2 separate regions of the Homo sapiens genome follow, and region 2 is linked to region 1. The links are contacts of gene promoters, found by promoter capture Hi-C in blood cells and fetal thymus (Javierre and others, 2016). All regions are on one chromosome and are shown on one strand. Each heading gives the region's core, a stretch centred on a gene start or on the middle of the fragment in contact. The rest is flanking DNA. Distances are from core to core; before and after follow the strand shown.

Evidence for each region. Contacts are between HindIII fragments. The CHiCAGO score rates a contact against its expected background, and 5 or more counts as called.
Region 2: a contact is called between the fragment with the promoter of TMEM89 here and the fragment with the promoter of CAMP in region 1, in 1 of 17 cell types (endothelial precursors). The highest score is 6.5, in endothelial precursors.

Annotation. Positions count from the first base shown.
Region 1 is chr3:48,221,393-48,225,265 of GRCh38, forward strand. CAMP (cathelicidin antimicrobial peptide) reads left to right here and starts at 2,103. Exons shown (of 4, transcript NM_004345.5): 1 at 2,103-2,320; 2 at 2,962-3,069; 3 at 3,211-3,282. The coding sequence starts at 2,120. RefSeq lists enhancers at 1,448-1,567, 1,588-1,717, 1,728-1,777 and a silencer at 1,787-2,081. The HindIII fragment of the contact is 1,963 bases long and covers 1,606-3,568 here.
Region 2 is chr3:48,620,057-48,623,929 of GRCh38, forward strand. It overlaps TMEM89 (transmembrane protein 89), which reads right to left and starts at 1,713. Exons shown (of 2, transcript NM_001008269.3): 1 at 1,407-1,713; 2 at 703-971. The coding sequence starts at 1,700. The coding sequence ends at 786. The HindIII fragment of the contact is 13,468 bases long and covers 1-3,873 here.

The sequences.
Region 1 (3,873 bases), core at 853-3,352:
AGGCCAACTGAGGTCAAGAGGTACCCCAGGCCTCAGGGCCACATGGCCAGTCCACAGAGGAGCTGGGACCGGAATTTGCCTCATGGACGCTGGACCCCTCTATCACTTTGGCCCTTTATCTCTCCTGGCTGTGATCTCTCCCTCTCCCAACACCAGCCACCCATCCCAGCTTGGTGTCTCAGCTAGAGCACCAAACAGGGAGTAATTTGAGGTCGAATCAGGAGAGACTTCCTGGAAGATGTAGGGGCAAAGAGGAGATTGCTGTGCCTGGTTGGAGGTCAGGGAAAGCTTCATGAGGTGAAAGGGCAGGCCAAACAGAAGGATCGGGGCAGAGCTGGGAGAAAGAGCAGGAGGCTCAGATGAGCCTATGTGATGGGGGCATACGTGACAGTCTGGCACTTGCAGTGTGCAGGGCTGGGGTGAGGGCAGTGGGAACCAAAAGGCCACAGGCCCTGATGCCAGCCTAGGGGGTGTGTGGGCTCCTGAAGGTAGAGGGTTGAAATGGCCAAATTGGTGGTTTAAAGGAACCCCTGGACAACGGTGTGGAGGGTGGACTGTGGTCTGGGGAGAGCCTGAAACCTAGAGAAGGTGGAGTCTGGAGGCTGGGGCAGCATTGCATGGGAGAGAAGATGGCGGCAGGAGCCAGGCAGGGGTGGAAGGAGAGGCCAGAGGGGAGTGCTTTCGGGAGGAAGGAGCCAAAGGTGCTTCAGGGCTCATGCAGTGGGCACTCAGCAGAAGAGCAGTCAAGGAGGCCCAGTGGGGACAACCGGGACGTTCATGGGAGTCTCGAACTCAGAGATACAGACTGGGTGGTGTCTGCCTATTATAACTGGTGTCCTGGGAGAGGGCGTCCCCAGGGAAACCCGAGGCCAGGGAAGAGAAGCAGCCCAGGAGGTGACCCCACACGCTCTCAATATTAAGAAGACAGCCCTTAGGGGAGACCAAGAAGGAGCCACCAGGGAGGCAGGAGGGACAGCAGGAGAGTGGCATCAGGGGAGACCGGGGCAGCAAGAAGGAAGGCTCACCAGTGCCTGTGCAGACAAAGACCAGGCTTGAGGGTGGCCATGGACCAAGGGTGGGTTGGCCAGCCTTCAGTGGCCTTCAGCATGAAGAAGAGTGAAAAGATGGGGTCAAGAAGCGTAGACAACCTTTCCTAAGACTTGGCTTGGGAGAAGCCATGGTGAAAGGCCATGTCTGGAGGGGCTTGGGAACATTTTGAGACTGAAAAAAACAGTGAAGAAGGATGCAGAAGGGGATAGATGGAGCAGAGCCTTCGTCTGGCTGACGGCTGGGTCCAGAGAGCATGTGGTATGGCCTTGAACTGAAAGGGCAACTTGTCCCTTGCAAGAGTGAGTCTCTAGGTTGGGGGTGGCTACTGTCTTCATTTACCAGTTCTTTTTTTTTTTTTTCATACTGAGTCTCACTCTGTTACCCAGGCTGGAGTGCAGTGGCATGATCTCAGCTAACTGCAACTTCTGCTTCCCGGGTTCAATGGGTTCAAGTGATTCTCATGCCTCAGCTTGTAGCTGGGACTACAGGTGTGAGCCATCATGCGTGGCTAATTTTCATATTTTTAGTAGAGATGGGGTTTCACCATGTTGGCCAAGCTTGTCTCGAACTCCTTATCTCAGGTGATCCGCCCACCTTGGCCTCCCAAAGTGCTGGGATTATAGGCGTGAGCCACCGTGCCCTGCCTCATTCATCAATTCTTAATCGATGCCTACAGGGTGCCAGGCAATGCCTAGAGCTGGAGATTTAGCAGTCCATCATACTGACTCCTGAGGAGTAGAAGGATGTAGAATAGGCACCTGGCTCTCTTCCTCTCTGGAGGGATTTAACGCTCTTGAGCACCCCTGGCTATGACAATCTCCGGTCAGGTCTGGGAGGTTGTCAGAGATGAAGAAACCACTTCCTCATCTTGCACACAAGGAAGGCCTCACTCACTGCCCAGCAAGTCCTGTGAAGCAATAGCCAGGGGCTAAAGCAAACCCCAGCCCACACCCTGGCAGGCAGCCAGGGATGGGTGGATCAGGAAGGCTCCTGGTTGGGCTTTTGCATCAGGCTCAGGCTGGGCATAAAGGAGGCTCCTGTGGGCTAGAGGGAGGCAGACATGGGGACCATGAAGACCCAAAGGGATGGCCACTCCCTGGGGCGGTGGTCACTGGTGCTCCTGCTGCTGGGCCTGGTGATGCCTCTGGCCATCATTGCCCAGGTCCTCAGCTACAAGGAAGCTGTGCTTCGTGCTATAGATGGCATCAACCAGCGGTCCTCGGATGCTAACCTCTACCGCCTCCTGGACCTGGACCCCAGGCCCACGATGGTGAGCTTTGGGGGACATTCTGCTCTGCTCTGGCTGGGCTTGGCCACGTGTTGTTCCTTCTGCTCCTGCTGCACTGCCTGCCAGGAGGGCATCTCCCCCTTTAAATGTGGTCCCGTGTTTTCCAGGGAACCTTCTAGAGCTCGTGTCTCCTCCCAGCTCGAGAGCTTCCTGCCTTATAATTCCTGCTGTGGCAGAGATACCCTCACCCCGACCCCACGCAGGTTTTGGGACTTCTGCGAGCTCCAGGCACTAGAATGGGGTCATTGGCTCTGGGCAGTGACCTCCTCTGCTTTAAGTCTCTTCTGTACCACGTTACCCCACATAGGGAAGAACTCTATCCAGACTTTAGGTTCCAGTGGGCATGTCTTGTCCCCCAGGAAGCCCCCTGACTTCCCTTGCCCCCACCCCAGAGTGGGAGGGGCTCCTTGTTAGAGCTCATCTGAGGTCTGCTCCTACTCACTGTTCACCTAGGAGGGTAGGAATGGCTCAGTCCTCCTCCCCTCAATGCCCCAGTGCCAAGCCCAGCACCCAGTGCCCGTCGCACATCAGGTACTGTGGAAAGCCTGCCCTCTTGGTGGGGAGGTCATGGACACAAATCAGAAAATACAAGAATGGGCCTCCCCATTTCCTCCTCTGACTAGGATGGGGACCCAGACACGCCAAAGCCTGTGAGCTTCACAGTGAAGGAGACAGTGTGCCCCAGGACGACACAGCAGTCACCAGAGGATTGTGACTTCAAGAAGGACGGGGTGAGGCTGGGGGCTGGGGGTGTTGGTGGGTGCCTCCCAAGGAGCTGAACAGGGGGCACCTGGGGAATATTTCCCACTGGGATGTGGCTGGGAGGTCATGGCAAATGGTTTCAAGTTTGACCTTGAGCTTCTCCTTTCCAGCTGGTGAAGCGGTGTATGGGGACAGTGACCCTCAACCAGGCCAGGGGCTCCTTTGACATCAGTTGTGATAAGGTGAGTGGGCTGTTCTGGGATGCAGGGGCTGATGGGGGCATAGAGTGTGGACCATCCAATGGGTCAATTAACTACTCCCCCAACCCAGGACAGAGAAAGCCCCTCCTACCCAGGGCTCTTCCCCAAACCTGAGTTCCATCTCCAGGGCCGGCTCTGGAATCCCTTAGAGCGGTAGATCTCCAAGTGTAGCCCTTCCTGGGGACTCGTTAGATATGCAAATTCTCAGGCCCTACTCAGACCTACTCAGACAGACTCTGGGTAGGGCCCAGAAATTCGTATTTTGATAAGCTTTCCAGGAGATTCCGGCTTCTGTAAAGTTTGAGAGCCACTGTCTAAGAGTACTCAGCTCTCAGCCCTGTGTTCCCATCTCAGTGTTGCTGGGCTGGGCTGTGTGACCCTGCAGAGCCCCTCACTATCTCCGGGACTCTGTTTTCTCATCTTTTTATTGGGTGTAGGGATTCAATCACATGCTTCAAAGGTCACAGCCAGAGGTTGAACTGGGGCCCCAAAGCTCCTGCGGGGGCCCACGAAGAGGGGCGTCTAGGTGGGGAGGGGTCTTGGATTGACCCTGGGTACATCCCCGACAAGGAA
Region 2 (3,873 bases), core at 463-2,962, 400 kb after region 1:
AGGCCCTTTATCATGTGCACTGCCCACCTTGCCCATGTGCAGAGAGTACCAAACACAGCACGTGGCTTTTGCTCAGAACCAGACCGCCACCTGGATTTCCCTTCCTCACACCCATTTCCCCTCAGGGCTCAGCCAGGTTGTTGGCTCCTCTGGGCAACCCTTCCTGAGCCACCCAAGCCTGTCCCGTTGGTAAGTCCTCTCCCATCACACAGGGAGTCCCCAGGTACTGGTCAGGCCAGAGGAGCAGTTTTTGTTTGTTTTGAGACAAGTTCTTGCTCTGTCACCCAGGCTGGAGTACAGTGGCACAATCTTGGCTCACTGCAACCACTGCCTGCCAGGCTCAAGCCATCCTCCCACCTCAGCTTCCTGAGTAGTTGGTACTACAGGCACACACCACTATGTGTGTGCTCAGCTAATTTTTGTTTGTTTGTTTGTATTTTTCGTAGGGATGGGGTTGCCATGTTGCCCAGGCTGGTCTCGAACTCTTGAGCTCAAATGATCCTCCCACCTCGGCCTCTCAAAGCGCTGGGATTACGGGTGTGAGCCACCACGCCCAGCCCAGAGGAGCAGTTGTGTCTCCAGGAGGGATCCTTAGGGAGGAAAGGTCAGTTGGTGGGGGCAATGGAGCAGTGTGAGCCAGCCTATGCCCCACCTGCCCGCCCGTCCTGGACACCAAGTCAGCTGACTCTAAAAGCTGAAAAGGGACACACGGTCCAGACAGGCCTGGAAAGAGCAGACCTGGCCCAGGACCTCAGGCTGTCAGGCAAAGAGAGGCACATGTTCGGTCACCCACTCTGGGTGGAAGTCCCCTTTATTTGGATTTGCCGCTGGGTGGCTAGATGACGTAGGTGGCCTTCGATGTGGACCAGGAGGGCATCCAGCATGTGCAGGACCCCACGGAGCAGGGTGTGGTCTGAGATTGGGGCCCGCCGTTTCCAGGGTCCGCAGGGCTCAGTGGTCACCTGCGGATGCTGAGACCAGGACCAAGAGGCAGGAGTGAGAATGGTGGGCAGAGAGGGAGATGTGACAAGGGGCAGTGATGGAGCTGGGGAGCAGGGAGTAGGGTGTGGGGCAGTGCCCAGATGGGATGGGAGGGAGACTCAGGGTGATAGAGGATCACCGAGGGTCTGTTGTGGGCTACAGTGGTCATGGGGCCCACAGGGGCTGGATGAGAGCAGGGGTACTAAAGGGGAGAGTTGGGGGCAGGGTGCTGGCTGTGGGTGGTGGACATGGGTTCCACGAAGGTGTGTGGACACAGGGACAATGGGCTGTGAGCTGGGGGTGGGGGTGTGGGAGGTCCACAGGCCAGTGTGGACCCATGGGGCAGGGTTGGGTGGAAGACGGGCTCACTGAGCGTACGTATATTGAGGCAGGGGCTGTGGGGGAGAAAGAAGAGCTGTGCTCACCTCACCCTTGGTGGCCTGTGAGCGCCGCCGCCCCTGCAGTATCTTGCGGCAGATCATCAGCATCGTGGTGGTGATCATGACCGCAGCCACGGGGTAGATGCGGCTTGCTCCAGGGCCCAGCCAGTAGCCAGGACAGCTCAGGCCACCCCTACAGCCCTCCACACTCTTTGGCTGACACCCCCAGGGCTGCAAGTCCAGCCCCACCTGGTACCAGAGGGGTCTCGACCAGGCGTGGGTGGAGGCAGACGTCACCAGCAGGAGCAGCAAAGGCAGCGAGGCCAGCACATGCAGCATGGCCGTCGCTAGTGCCAGGGCCGGAACCCGGGCACCTGGCAACGGGCAAACGCCCCTCCCCCGGGAAGAGGCCTGGCTCTAAGGCAGCAGGTTCCAGCCAGGCCCATGGCCTTTCATGAGCAGCCTGGCCAGAAACTGGCTGTGGTCAGGGGGCTGGAGTCCAGGGCTTGAGGACAACGGCAGACCTGGGTTCTGGGTCCTGCTGTCCCAGCGGGCCTAGCTGGCCCCAAACTGAGGGAGCACCTCCTTTTGAAGCTGGGCCCTAGGCTGGGTGTAGTGGCACACACCTGGAATCCCAGCACTTTGGGAGGTTGAGGCAGGTGGATGGCTTGAGCCCAGAAGTTTGAGACCAGCCTGGGCATCACGGCAAAACCCCATCTCCATAAAAAATACAAATAATTAGCTGGGTATAGTGGCACATGCCTGTTGTCCCAGCTACCCAGGAGGCTGAAGTGGGAGGATCACCTAAGCCTGGGAGGTCAAGACTGCAATGAGCTGTGATTGCACCACTGCACTCCAGCCTGGGCAACAGAGTGAGATTTTTTCTCAAAAAAGATAAAAAAAGAAACTAAGTCCCAAACAGTTAAAGAAACCAGTAACTAACAGAAATTCTTTTTTTTTTTTTGAGACAGAGTCTTGCTCTGTCGCCCAGGCTGGAGTGCAGTGGCACGATCTCCGCTCACCGCAAGCTCTGCCTCCCGGGTTCACGCCATTCTCCTGCCTCAGCCTCCTGAGTAGCTGGGACTACAGGCGCCCGCCACCTCGCCCGGCTAATTTTTTGTATTTTTAGTAGAGACGGGGTTTCACCGTGTTAGCCAGGATGGTCTCAATCTTCTGACCTCGTGATCCACCTGCCTCGGCCTCCCAAAGTGCTGGGATTACAGGCGTGAGCCACCGCACCCGACCTTACAAACTTTTTTTTTTTTTTTAACTAGGCTGGGCACCATGGCTCAGGCCTGTAATCCCAGCACTTTGGGAGGCCAAGGCAGATGGATCACCCGAGGTCGGGGGCTCGAGACCAGCCTGACCAACATGGAGACCTGCCTCTACTAAAATAGCCAGGCGTGGTGGTTCATGCCTGTAATCCCAGCTACTCAGCAGGCCGAGGCAGGGGAATCACTTGAACCTGGAAGGTGGAGGTTGTGGTGAGCCGAGATCGCGCCATTGCATTCCAGCCTGGGCAACAACAGCAAAACTCCATCTCAAAAAAAAGAAAAAGGCCGGCTGTGGTGGCTCACACTTGTAATCCCAGCACTTCAGGAAGCTGAGGTGGGTGGATCACGACATCAGGAAATTGAGACCATCCTGGCTAACATGGTGAAACCCCGTCTCTACTAAAAATACAAAAAAAAAAAAAAATTAGCTGGGCGTGCTGGCACACCCCTGTAGTCCCAGCTACTTGGGAAGCTGAGGCAGGAGAATCACTTAAACCCGGGAGGCAGAGTTTGCAGTGAGTTGAGATCATGTCACTGCACTCTGGCCTGGGCGACAGAGCGAGACTCCATCTCAAAATACAAACAAACAAAAACTAGCTGGGGCTGGGTGCGGTGGCTCACCCCTGTAATCCCAACACTTTGGGAGGCCAAGGCAGGAGGATCACTTGAGGTCAGGAGTTCAAAACCAGCCTGGCCAATATGGTGAAACTTCGTCTCTACAAAAATACAAAAATTAGCTGGACATGATGGTGGGTGCCTGTAATCCCAGCTATTCAGGAGGCTGAGGTGGGAGAATCACTTGGACCCAGGAGGTGGAGGTTGCAGTGAGCCAAGATCGTACCATTGCACTCCAGCCTGGGCGACAGAGCGAGACTCCGTCTTGGGTGGGGGGAGGTGGGGGAACTAGCTGGGTGTGGTGGCATGTACCTGTAGTCCCAGCTACTTAGGAGGCTGAGGCAGGAAGATCGCTTGAGCCCAGGAGGTCAATGCTGTAGTGAGTGGTGATCACAGCACTGCACTCCAGCCCGGGGAACAGAGCAAGAGCCGATTTAAAAAGAAAAAAAAAAAAAATCCACACGGCCCCTAAAACCTTTTGCTTTCCACCAGGGGCATCACCTCTCTAGGCTGACCAAACTCGCAGGTCCCCCACACCCAACCGCAGCCCCACAGTCCACATCGCAGTTGGGTGAGTGCTCAAAGATGTGGGATCAAAATCCACAGGCAGCTCCCCCGCTGTC